2 separate regions of the Homo sapiens genome follow, and region 1 is linked to region 2. Evidence: promoter capture Hi-C in human tissues and cell types (Jung and others, 2019). All regions are on one chromosome and are shown on one strand. The core of a region is centred on a gene start or on the middle of the fragment in contact, and the rest is flanking DNA. Distances in the headings are between cores, read along the strand shown. Region 1 overlaps SLC6A15 (solute carrier family 6 member 15). Region 2 holds the start of TSPAN19 (tetraspanin 19).

What was found. Contacts are between HindIII fragments. The study calls those that stand out against the background at their distance.
Region 1: a fragment that was not itself captured here is called in contact with the fragment with the promoter of TSPAN19 in region 2 in 2 of the 25 tissues and cell types used here (hippocampus and mesenchymal stem cells).

Annotation. Positions count from the first base shown.
Region 1 is chr12:84,890,728-84,897,656 of GRCh38, forward strand. SLC6A15 (solute carrier family 6 member 15) reads right to left here. Exons shown (of 12, transcript NM_182767.6): 2 at 1,105-1,581. The coding sequence starts at 1,393. It also overlaps the pseudogene LOC124903121. Among named protein-coding and RNA genes, the nearest start is that of SLC6A15, 19 kb to the right of the region's middle. The HindIII fragment of the contact is 5,533 bases long and covers 809-6,341 here.
Region 2 is chr12:85,034,231-85,041,043 of GRCh38, forward strand. It overlaps TSPAN19 (tetraspanin 19), which reads right to left and starts at 2,047. Exons shown (of 9, transcript NM_001100917.2): 1 at 1,974-2,047. It overlaps LRRIQ1 (leucine rich repeats and IQ motif containing 1), which reads left to right and starts at 2,121. Exons shown (of 27, transcript NM_001079910.2): 1 at 2,121-2,177; 2 at 3,923-4,078; 3 at 6,260-6,371. The coding sequence starts at 3,947. The HindIII fragment of the contact is 3,053 bases long and covers 1-2,895 here.

The DNA.
Region 1 (6,929 bases), core at 2,325-4,824, 140 kb before region 2:
CAGGAAAAAATTTACATACGCATGGGTTTTATTATTTTATTTGATGTAGGGTTTGTAGATTACAACCACATTAAAAATAAACCATATTTTTGTCCAGTCAATAAAATTATCACAAACTAGAATCAAATACCAAAATATTCTTTATATACTTTGTGTCCTGAAATGCATGACTTATGGAATATTTTATTTTCAGCCACACTTATTTTAACAGCATGTACGTGTACATAAATAATAATATTTCATATACATAGATAATAACATTTCAATCCAATGTTAGTTAAATTAAATTCAGTTTGGTTTTGGTGTACTATAGAATTAGCATCATATGTAAACAATTTTCCCCTTTGTAAAGTTTTTTCCCTAGACTTCTAAGATAATTTTGCTAAGTAAGCCTTTATAAGTACAAATGTAAATATTAATAGCAAGAATAGCAATGATGTTGCAGATAATTTTGTTTAAAATTAAGGTTGCTAATTTCTTTAAAGTTGTCTTTGAAATGGAACATTGTTCCAAAATACCCCCATAGAACTGGAAAGGAAATGCATAAAATGCCTAAGAATGAAGAATGTCTAGCATTGTATTATCTGTTTACATTCCTTCTGCTGGGATCTAAATGTTCTCATCAGCATTTGAAGATTATAATTATTCTAAGTTACATATCATTTTGTATTTTTTGAAGAATGAGGCAACTTAAAATTAAGAATTAATAAATCACGGAGAGAAAATTCTCTGTTTTCCTTCACCAGTATTGTCATATATCAGAAGCTTTAGGTTATTCTTCAAAGGGAATAATTTACAAGCACAAACGATGCAAGAAAAGTTTCACTCAGTTATTCAGAGTTGTTTAATAAGCTTCCGGAGAAAGAAGTTGAGAATGTGTTACCCTTAAGCAATCCCTGAGCATTCACAGCAAGCCCATCTGCTCCTGTGGAAACGTAATCTGAAAACATATCTGGGCTCACTTCCCACAAAGAAGTGGGTTTCTCTAGCTTTACAATGAAATTGAAAGTTTCAAAAATAATGAGAAACAGCAATAATAGGAGCTATTTGAGAAACCCAATTGCAATTTACTACAGTAATTTATCACTTAAAAAGATTACTTACCGCCCCCATTCTTCTGACATAGGTATGGAAATCGCCACACATTTCCTAAACCTACAGAAAATCCAACTTGGGCCAGGATGTATTGTAGTTTACTGTTCCAAGCTGGTCTTTCATCTTCGACTTCAGATCCTTCTTCAACATCTGTATCTTTCTCTTCCTGGCCATCAACAATTAGTTCACTTGTCTTAAAAGCATCATCAGCTGCGTCTTCATTGGAAAGAAGGTCTTTGACAGACTCAGTAACATCATCATCTAATTCTCTTTTTACCACCTTGCTATTTTTGGGCATTGGAGAGTATGCGAAGTATTTAAAAAAAAAAAAAAAAACTCCCTTATGGCAAATGTGTTAACTCTATTTTTCAAAACAATGTTACTTGATAGGAAGTAAAGACCGAGGATGATATCAAATAAATCCTTGATTCAAGGTGATAAAGCCTTATGGATTCTGAATCCGTATGTCCAGTATTCTGTAGGTACCTGTAAAATTATAAGTTGAAATGTGATCATATTTAATGATGAAAAAATTTAAATACAGAATTATTCTTTTTTATTTTTATGATAGAAACCCTTTCTACAGAGTATAAAACATGTAACTGTCTTTAGCATTTCAGAGCTTAATATTCCCGTAAGTATAAGAATTTTAAAGCACTTATGAGCTTCAAATACAATTTTCTTAGCTAACATCCTCCTTCTTGCAAAAATCTCAGATACACTCCAATGCATAATGAATATTCTGTTCATTAGTAACTAAACTTTTAGGACTCTTTTTCTTAATTCTTTATTTTTTCCTCCCTGACTAAAGCAGATATTTTCTTATATATCCCTGATTTTGTTCCTTGTGGAATTATAAACACAATTGCAAACCAACGCTGTAAATTTGTCTCATATATAATCTCTTCTGTTCAAACATTCGTCATTCACTCATTTGATATTAATTGTTCTTCTCAAAAATTTAACCTAGTTTATTTTATTTTATTTTTGGAGACAGGGTCCCACTCTGTCACCCAGGCTGGAGTGCTGTGGCAAAATCAGGACTCACTGCAGCCTGTACCTCTCCCAGAGATCCTCTTGCCTCAGTCCCAGAAGTAGCTGGGACTACAGGTGTGTACCACCACACCCAGCTAATTTTATTTTTCTTTTCTTTGTAGAGATGAAGTCTCACTATGTTGCCTAGGCAGATCTCGAACTTCTGGGTTCAAGGGATCCCGCCTTGGCCTCCCAAAGTGCTGGGATTATATTGCATAAGTGATCTCACCCAACCCATTTGATATTTATTGTGATGAGGCTTTATGGGATACAATAATCAATGAAACGTACAAAGCATGTTTTTAAGGATCTTATATTTAATAGAGAGAAAGGTACATCAAATAACAATTCTGTAGTGCAGAATTTAAATGACCCAACATTATTACAACAGGAAAGATCAGGAATGTTGGATAAAATTAGAGTTGAGCATAAATGGAGTGAGGTCATACCCAATCATAAGGAAAAGTATAAATGAGACAAGAAATGCTCAAAATGTACATTATATATGTGATCAGTCTCTTAACAGCTCAGGAAAAACACTGTAATCCCTTTGGGATTTTTTTTTTCCTTTCTTTATTTGTATGTTACGTCTCCTATCCTTTTCCCCACTCAGACACAGACCAAGTAAATATATAAGACATGTCTACAGTCCAGCGACACTATGTTAAAATGTGACTGAAAAATATGACTGCTTCTCTTCAAATCTGAATTAGGAAGTTTATGAAATGGTAGCCCAAGAATTCCGCCCTTCATTTCTGGAATAAAATAGAATTTATTAAGAGAACTGCTATTAGATTGACATTAAAAGTCAAAGAAAACAGCTATCATATTTCAATCTATAATCTTAATGAGCAAGACAAAGTGTTGGGTAACCCAGTGGAAAAAAAATTACTTAACTTACTATGTAACTAATTTGTTGCCTTTAGGTTGGGATGATGTTTAGTTGTTTTAAAATTAAAATATATACCCTAAGAGCAAACACTTCTCGTTTAGGATTTGGTGAAGATTAAGAGAAAACTGTTTAGAAAATTGTGAAAGAGATGCATTCCCAAAATATTTTGAGTGATAGACACATCTCCAGAATAGGTGTAAAACTTCCCACAGTGATTATTTTAAACTGATAAGAACAGATACTACACTTGATCTTAGCAAAAAGGCCGAGAAGCGATCACAGTGACTATTTCACAGAGGCCAACAAAGTTTTGATATGGAAATAATTCATGAGGTTTGACATTTTGTCTGTTTAATTTATATTATTTTCCCCTACAGCTCAGTAAATATTAGTTGAATACATTAATAAATATAGCCATTGAAAAACTGAAATAAACAAATTTCTAGATGGTATTTGCTGGAAGAAAACAACCTGACATATAAAAAATTGTGATTTGTAAGACATGAATTATCCAGAAAAAAGATTTACATTTATTAAATTATCTGAAGATAAAATGTGTTGGCATAGTAGCAAGTGATATATGGATAAGAGCATGGATTTTAGTCTGACAAATTTGGAGTTGTGTCCTAGCACTATAACTTATTAATTGTGTAAATGCTGATAGTTATGCCTCTCTTAACCTCAGTTCCCACAATAAACTTTGGTTTCTTATTCCTTTTGCTTTTTCCATACAGACAGAAAAGTAAGGAGTGTATCCAAGCTTAGAGATACTATTATAGTAAAAACACTCAACATTTTACAAAGAAAAAAAATTTTAAATAGTGTGAACCATGAATCTCCCCCAAATTTTTACGGAAAATACTATATCTCTTCTATACATTTATATTCTTTGGACAAAAAATACACACACAAAAATCAAAATAAAAGGTAATACCTTTGGCTACTACTGCATGTTTTTTACACACCAAGTGAATAATCCTCACCAATTTACATAAGTTATCCTTTGGCAAAGTTTACACTCAAATATTCTGATCAAACTACCTGAAGGTCATATTTTCTATTTTAAAAAATCAGTATCTAATGTAAACAAATTTTAAATGTAATATTATATCATAAACACTTTGAATATAAATAAATATATACTACAGATATCGTATAACAACTCTAGCCAAACTTTATAAAATAAAATACTTATTAAAAAGGGAGTTGAAGTGGGTATTTGCATGCATTAAAAGCTCCTTTTCTCATATGAGCAAAAAACTATAATGAATCCTTAATGATATTATAAATAAAATTATCTAAGCTCTCTTTTCTTACTATTTTTCTTACCCTGTCCCACTTCTTGGTCTGTCTGGGGTGGTTGTAGGAAGATAGGGGAAGAATTGTAATTAACATTAAAATATTCACAATAACATGTAAGTCTGGGAGAAAATAAGTTATTGCCTTGAGAATGACATTGTTTATCTTACTCACCCCCATATTACCAATGTTTAAACTTGTCTGTTGAATGAATGAACCGAAAGGTTTAAAGAATAAGATCATATAACTAAACAAGTATTTTGCACTTAGATGTTTTCATTTTTGTTTGTATTTTTTTTTTTTTTTTTTTTTTTTTTTTGAGATGGAGTCTCACTCTGTCCCCCAGGCTGGAGTGCAGTGGCATGATCTCGGCTCACCACAACCTCTGCCTCCCGAGTTCAAGCAATTCTCTGCCTCAGCCTCTTGGGTAGCTGGGATTACAGGCACCCGTCCCCATGCCCGGCTAATTTTTGTATTTTTAGTAGAGACGAGGTTTCACCTTCTTGGTCAGGCTGGTCTTGAACTCCTGACCTCGTGATCCACCCACCTCGGCCTCCCAAAGTGCTAGGATTACAAGCGTGAGCCACCATGACCAGTTTGTTTGTATTTTTACTTTAAGACCATGCACCCACTGAACATAAGAATTGACTTCTTGTGCACAGTTTTCATACAGCCAAAAGTAAATAGATAAATTTAGTTTCTGAAGAGATTTATTAAAACTAAGTATAGCAACAATAATTTAGAAGCCAGATCAATTTCACATTTTTAAGAGTAACTTTCTTGAAGGATAACCATTTTTATAAATTCTAAAAGCCCGCCTAAAAACTTAGTCCATAAATGTAGTCCATAAACATAGACAAAAAAGAAAATCAAAAGAGAGGTTGGCAATTGCCAAAAATGTATTACAATTGTTACATCTGAGAATAGAAGAAGAAATGAAGAGAAATGTCCAGGAAGAGAGATAGAGTGATAAAGTATCAGTGCTCGATAGGTCATATGGACAGTAGTGGAATCAGTATCAAGTAACAGCACAATCTCTGCCAACTTAGCAGCATCCATTCTTGTGATAGACAATCAACTAAGGAACAAGCTATCACTCACTGCACTTCATCTGCACCGAAGAGTTGTAATACTTGTCCTCATCATTATTTGGTAAGAGCCTCCTGTCTACAACTGTACAATAGAGCAGGAGTCAACAAAATATTGCTCATGGGCCAAATACAACCCACCATCTGTATTTTGTAAAAAAGATTGTATTGGCATGTATCCATGCCCATAAAATATTGCTCATGGACCAAATACAACCCACCATCTGTATTTTGTAAAAAAAAAAAAGATTGTGTTGGCACGTATCCATGCCCGTAGATTTACATTTTGTTATGGCTGATTTTGTGCTACAACAACAGAGTTATTGTTATGGACCGTAAAGCCTAAAATGTTTACTAACTCTTCACTGAAAACATTTGCCAACCTCTCTTTCAGAGAATAAATCTAAATTGAAAATGTGGAGTTCCCCAGCTCACTCAATTTGTATGGCACTACTTCCCATGTCAAAAAATATTCCAATATAGAAATTTCCCTATTGAAAATGCGTAGTTCCAAATAATGAAAAATATGTGTATGGAAATGGAAAGATAGAGGTGATAGTGGACACAGGAAGAAACATAAGCAAAAGACATATACAGAATATAAATATACACCAGGAAACAATGTGCTTCAGAGTTACAAAGAAAACATTTATTTAAAATAAATTTCATGGAAGTGAACTAAAAGATTAACTGAAAGAAAAAGGTAAGTGGATGAACACAAGAAATGGGAGAATTCATCAGAGGACTAAAAGTCACATTAGAAGCAACTGAAGGCCAGGTGTGGTGGCTCACGCCTGTAAACCCAGCACTTTGGGAGCACTAGGCGGGTGGATCACTTGAGGCCAGGAGTTCGAGGCCATACTGGCCAATATGGTGAAATTCCCTCTCCCCTAAAAAAATACAAAAATTAGCTGGGTGTGGTGGCAGGTGCCTGTAATCCCAGATACTCAGGAGGCTGGGGCAGGAGAATCATTTGAACTGGGGAGGCAGAGTTTGCAGGCAGCGGTTGCAGAGATCATACCACTGCATTCCAGCCTGAGTGACGGAGCAAGACCGTGTCTCAAATAAAATAAATAAAATAAAATAAAATAAAGAAAAAGAAACAACAGAAACTAGAATAAACACTACTGAAACTATATCTGAGGCATGGAGGACAGATGTAAAGAAAGTTCACAAAAAAGAAATGAAAAGTTACAAATATCTTAAAGTAATTTAGAAGAAAGCTAATGAAAACTGAAGTCAGCTAAAGGTAATCCAACAAACTTCTAATTGGTATAGCCAAACACAATAATACAATTAATAAAACACAAAATACTAAAAGAAAAGCAGAGGTTTTGCTTGAAGACTTGTATTTGCAAATAATAACAATACAGAAGAGTAAACACTGATAAATTACCAAGATAAGAATTCCTAGGGATTTCAAGCAGAAGTAGAAAGATCAAATTAAAACACTTCTCATAATATCTATTAATAGATGAAATTAAAACACTTCTCATAATATTCATTAATTTCAATAAAAC
Region 2 (6,813 bases), core at 797-3,296:
TACCTGCTCTGCAACTATTTTGAACACAACAATGATATTATGGGATATTTAAATTATATCACTGCCATATGAAGAATAAAGCAGTTGTTGAAAAATGCTCTTAAACTAAAATGATTTCACTACAACACATTTTCAAAGGAATATTAGTCTTGTCAGATAACAAAGAACAAACAGTTATCTCTCATTCTTTCATTCTCTCAATAAATATTTATTATGTACTCTCTAAAGGAAATATGCATTGTTAAGCCAATATGCTATAAATCAACCACACCTACAAATTGTTTTTAAAATTTAAATGAAATGAAGTTAACATGTTCAAAAGAAACAAAAGTCTACTCAGGTTAAAGAGTCATAGGCAAACCAACATACTCAATCTGAAGTTACCGTTTCTAGGAATAATGCAATTAAAATGGACTTCTGCTAAATACTACATGGTTGATAAACAACAGTGTCAAGTTAAATTTACTTATAATCTACAAATGTATTAGATAACTGCTGCCTTTTATTTTTGATTAGTTATATTCTAGCGAAATTATGACTAATTGATAAAGTTGTCCTTTCTTCCAAAGTAAAAAATCGCATGACAATATAGGAGATCTATCACCATGAATTAATTTATCTTCAGAAAATCTTTCACTGTTTTTCTTTTTTGCTGTCAATATTTGACAAAGTAAGCTTTGAGAAGGAAAGGAACTAAGGCATTATTTCCAAAATTATTTGATTATGAAAACTAGTTATTCAAAATTAATTTTGAAATTATTAAAGGATTTATAATTTTTAGAAGTCTGGATAGTTTCACAATCAAAAATAAAACTAATCTTAAGATTCTTATGTGAACTTCAACACAATATGAAAGTCTATTTTAAATGAACAGTTTGAGGTTCGAACACAGTAGCTCATACCTATAATCCCAGTGCTTTGGGAGGCCAAGGCGGGAGGATTACTTGAGTACAAGAGTTGGAGGCTACAGTGAGCAATAATTGTACCACTGCACTCCAGCCTGGGCAACAGAGGGAGACCCTGTCTCTAAAAAAACAATAAAAAATAGATAATTTCAATAGTCTATAAATCAGCAATAAAACCAAACTTAAAAAAAAGAACAAATTCCATTTGAGCATGGACTTTGATAATGAAAATACTCTGAATTTAATTAGACCTGAAACCAAGTGTAGTTTATTTTTTAAAATCATCTTTCCTGAAAAGGAAACTAACATGTGTGCTTTTAATATGAGAAATCTATTAACGTCTCACTTTATATTATTAGTTCTTATGTTGATGCAATTCAAGTTTATTGTTACCAGGAAATGTAGTCTATTTTTTTTCCAGAGGCTCAGTGAAATATTTGCTTTTAGCTTATTTTATAGCAGATACCTTTTACAATTATGGCTACTTCCTTTTAGAATTTAATGCCTTATTTGCAAACTTTAAAAGAAAATTAAAGTAAAAAATATGTTATTAATTAAAATATTATTTTGTACCCTATGTATTTGCTCCACAAAAAACTTTAATAAATTAAGTTAAAATTAAATAGCATGACATAAACTTAGAAATTAAGGTTTTATATTGAAATACTGTGTGACAATATTTTTACAGTAAAATAACTCCAGAAAATAATTTTTCAAATTTCTCACCCACATCCCTTCAGTTAGAGGTTTTTGATGGGCATTGATTGATGATTTTTTTCTTTTTTCCTTTTTCTTTTCTTTTCTTTTTTAAAAAACTGTTGTCATGGAAGGCAAACAACTTATTGACTTCTCTTCCATACTTCTATGTCCCACAAATCACTGTTCAGGATTAAGGGTTTGTGGAATGAACACCTTATACATGGGCAAATCACCAGATGGAAATATAAATATATGTAGCTCAGAAACAATTTAAAAAATTTAAAAGTGAGATTACATCTACTTGGGTAATTATAACAAAATTTCATTTTATTAAGTATTTTCCAAAGTTACTTAAATATTAAAATCTACCTGTAAAAAACCGTAAGCTCCTCATCCAGTCCCTGAAATGCTGCGTTCGTTTCAATTTAGAATCGAGATTGTTTGTCCTTCTAGAGCACCTGTAGGGAAAAACCGGTGTCTCTTCCTTGTGATTGGCTGTTGCCATGGATACGCTTTGTGTAGCGGCTATGGGCGCTGTCTTACAACAAAGCCAAGGAATCTCGCTGCTGAGGGGTGAGCCGGGGTCTTAAGACTGGGATTCCCGTTGAGGGAGGTGAACAGCTGTGGGAGCTCAGGCCGAGCCGGGACTCTCTCTGCCTGGCCAGACTTCCAGCAAAGGGAGAGACCGCGGGTCAGGGGATGGCTGTGCGACTCTGCGAAGCTCGAGGCTCCCTTCCACCCTGGAGATTTCGAGAACTCATTCAAAACTTAAAGAGATGTCTTGGCTATGTAGGGATCATTCGATGGTTACTCACTCACCGCTCCCCACAAACCAATTGACGTTATTTTCCTTCCTTCCTTCCCTTCTTGTCGCCCTCCTTTCCACCCTTTCTTTTTCTGTCTCTCTTTCTTTCTTTTTTTTTTGGTAATATATAATTTATATGAACCTTATAAAGTAGATTTCTCTCCCCTTTCTTTACAGGGGTTGAAGGGGGAGTTCCTTAAGCTTTTCTACTTTTGACAGCTTTAGTGAACTCCAAGTGATTCGTTATCAACTTAGAGCACTTTAATGTAGCCCATTTACAGTGAGACCCATCCATGACTGCACGTCATATACAGTAACCACTAACTGCAGGTGGCTACTGAGGACTTGAAATGCAGCTAATCCTAACTGAGATGTGCTGCAGGTGTAAAACACACAACAGATTTCTAAGAATTACTGTCCAAAGAAAGAATATAAACTCTTTGCAATGATATTAATAATTAATTTTGTTATTACACGTTGAAATATTTTGGATATATTGGGTTAAATAAAATATATTATAAAAATTAATTGCACTTCTCTTTTGTTTTTAAAAAGTTGCTAATAGAAAATTTAAACTTGCGTAAGTGCTCAAATATGTAATTGGACAGGGGTGATCTAATGAGCCAGTAGATGAACAGAGAAAGTCATGTAAAGGAAATGACTCTTACCTCCACCATACTCTCCTGCCTCTCTTTCTATATAAAGTTTAGTATACCCGTGCATTTTGCTTTGTAGGCATAAAAAAAAAATCTAGCTTTCCTTCTAATAAAGCTTTTTAAATGCACTTTGAGTTCCATTGCAGGATAATATTTTGCCCTGGTTCTGTCTGGAGTTCCATTTCACTTTGTTTTTCTTTTCTTTTCTTTCTTTTCCTTTTTTTATTTTATTTTTTATTTTTGAGTGAGTGAGTGAGGGTGGAAGTTATGGGTAGAACTGATTTTGAGATGATTGAGTAGAGTGAAAGGAGGAATTAACGAAAGGGAAAGAGGATGGAAAGAAGGAATGAAGAAAAGAACAAGAAGACAGGTGGAAAGGTCAGGCCCTTGAGTAAAGAAAGAAAGGTTTAAACTAGTGTCATGAAAAATAAAATGATAGCTGACTAGTACGTTTTCAAACCTTTTTTGGGACTAAGACCAACAGTGAAAAATAAAAAACAGAACATTAACAACAACACATATTACATTGCAACTCATGCATACATACCTACATTTATATGTATTAATAACTGAAACAAAAATTTTATAAACAATTCTGATCTTTATTATATATAGTAAAATTATATAAACATATAAATCAATAAGAGTATTAGCGTACAATTACAGTTGATCATTTTGTAGTCAAAGTTTAAAAAGAATGATTGAAGAGATAAAACAATGTTTGGTGTAACCATAATAAGGTGTGATAAAAGTTTGTTAAATTAAAACATATTTAAATAAATATGTTGGATTGGTATGACAAATTAGAGAACACATAATTTTTAGTGACATATTAGCCTCTTCATTTTTTAAAGCAGTTCTGTGCTTTATTATGAAGAATAATGGACGATGATGATGCAAAGCTCAAAGCAGAAATAGAAGCTGAATTGGATAAACTCAGCATTTCCTCCTTGGAAAAAGAAGACATTGAGAGTGATGCAAAATCAGAAACCCAGAGTGATGATAGTGATACAGTGAGTATTGCACTTTTGAGCCTTTTAACAGGAGTAGGCTTTTCAGGAGAAATATTACTTTTCTCAGGATGTTTTTATGTACTTCTCATTTTTAGCAGCATTGTTATAAACAATTTATATAAATATAAATTATATTGAATATATATAGTCACCTATACATCTTCGTAAAATTGGGATTATCATTATATATATTTATATCCTGATTTTTGTTTTTACTTGTGAACATTTTAGCATGATTAAATTACATGGGAAGAAAAATGTATATGAAATCTTTTGACATATCAAAATGGTTACTTTTGGAAATAAAACAAATTATCCTTTTATTTGTGTATATTTACCAATGTTTATATGCTTCAGAGTTTATTCATAGATTTATTCATTTATACCAATATCCTTAATCCAACTGGAATTTATTTTCAGGAATGTTATGAAATGTAGAACTAATTTGAAAATCTCCTGCACATATTGAGCTAATATTTCCAGTGTCTCTTGTTTAATAATCTAATTTTTCTCAATTGATTTATCATATGTCTTACTGATAGTTATTGTACATATGATCTATCCAAGGCTGTCTGTTCTTTTCCATTACTTTATTCATTATTTTCCTACTGTTGTATATTTGTAAATATTGAGTGGACCAAATTCTTCACATCTTTTTATCATTTGAAAATCTTAACTAAGCTTTTTTTGAAAAAGAAAATTTTTTAAAGATTTGAGAACTTTGTTATTTTATTAGGATTGCACTAAACCTACCTATTACATTTAGAAAAATTAACATTGTTACATTATTATGTCTTTTATCCAGAGCTCATTTAAATGAGGCAAAAAAATCTGAAATTCTTTATTTGAGTATGAAATCCAACAGAATAATGGATTGTTTTATATTTTATTATACCTTTTTATATAAAGGAAGAAGAAAATTTTAAAGCCCTTCTGTTTCAATTAAGATACCTCACTATTATTTATATCACTTAGAATCAGTGTAAGTATTATTACCAGGGGAAAAAATTATTAACTAAGGATTTACAGATTATGAACTATATTTCCCAAGACATAACAACAATCTCTACAATCCAGGTAGCTTAGAATTCTATTTCTTAGTTAAACAAGAAATAGAAATCTCAATGCAGGACAGATGTCAGAAAAGTAGAATTGATATTTTTGTCACTATTTTTAATACACTACTTTATCAGGACTCATTTTATGACATATAATTTTACATGCTTTTCTGTAGTACTAAAAGAAAGGTAATATTTTCTCATTATCTTCTAATGTTCATTCTCAAAACTAAACACTGAATTCCATTAGTTAGGATAGAGAAAATAAAGCTGGCTGTAAATCCTAAATTCAACACATGAAAACCCAGTATGGCAGACAATATTTGTTTTTAGTTAAATAAAAGCAGGTGCATATCATGTTCTTCTATATAGAAGCATTTATATCGTTTCATTGATGCCATGCTTGAGGTCCCTCAGTGAAGTGTTGTCATCATGTAGATATATGTAACTTCAAGATTATTATTAAAGTTGTTCCTAGATGCTTCAAGTATTTTGTTGTTATGAATATTATTTATTTGCATTATATTTTCTAACTAGTTACGGTGTTTATGGAGGAAGGAATTTTATTTTTGCATTTTGCATATCAATATATTTAGCTATTTAGAAAATTTACAAATCGAGTTACATAGGCTATATTGGTAGATATTTTATAATAGCTTACAAATGTGACTAAATTTGTGTATGATAATCACAAAGCCAGTTTTGAATGTAATAAATAATTATATCAGGTATTAGTTTGATATTAAATATTTTGAAAAAATAATCTTGCAGTTTTGATTAATATTTGATAATATTTATTTGAAGTTGGAATTAATCTAAAAATATATACAACTATTGAGGGCATTCAAAAATAAACAGCCTGTAATAAAGTTAACGAAAGTGATGTGTAGGTAACTCTTTTCATTTGTTTTCTTAGAGTTTTCTAGAAATGCACAACCACCTGAAAATTAAAAGTAAACTCTAGCCAAATATATTTGTCTGAACTGTGCTGTTTATATGGAATCTTTTTACTTCATTTACATGTTTTGGTCACATTTTTGCTGTGGAATGAAGGGTCCAAAATTTGACACATAATTTTGATAATAAACACTTTCACAGTTTCTTGTATTATTCAAATTTTTAGGATTCAGTTGAATTACCAGAATCAGTTCTTCACTGTATTAACATCATAAAGAACAGGAGTAAAGCTGTTGAAGAGCTCATTCTTCAGGACCTGGAAGATACTGATATTTTAAGTAAGTACTATTTTCATCTGTCTGGCAGATAAGCTTTCTGTAAGTATGAACAAATTATAATTTAGTAAACTAAAGTGCTTAAAGTTCTTATCTCTTACTGTGCACATGTGTATACATTTAGTGTATTTCTAATATATCTACAGTATATTGGACTGTTGGGTTTAGTTCATTCATTTTTTTTTTACTATCTTTCTTAGGTCTTCAGTAAATACCATCAGCATTTTGTTTCCGCAGTCCTAATTAATACCAGACATCCTATTATTTTATATTAAAGAAAATAAAACTAATCAAGAGAATTTTTTTGGCAGTATCAGTATATACATCTTTTTTTGGGAAAAATATAATCACTTATTTGAAAAGCCCAACAGTATTTTGCTTGAATTGTGCAAATTTACTTCTTGGAATTGTTCTAAGACTAATGGAAAGATCGAAGATTTAATTA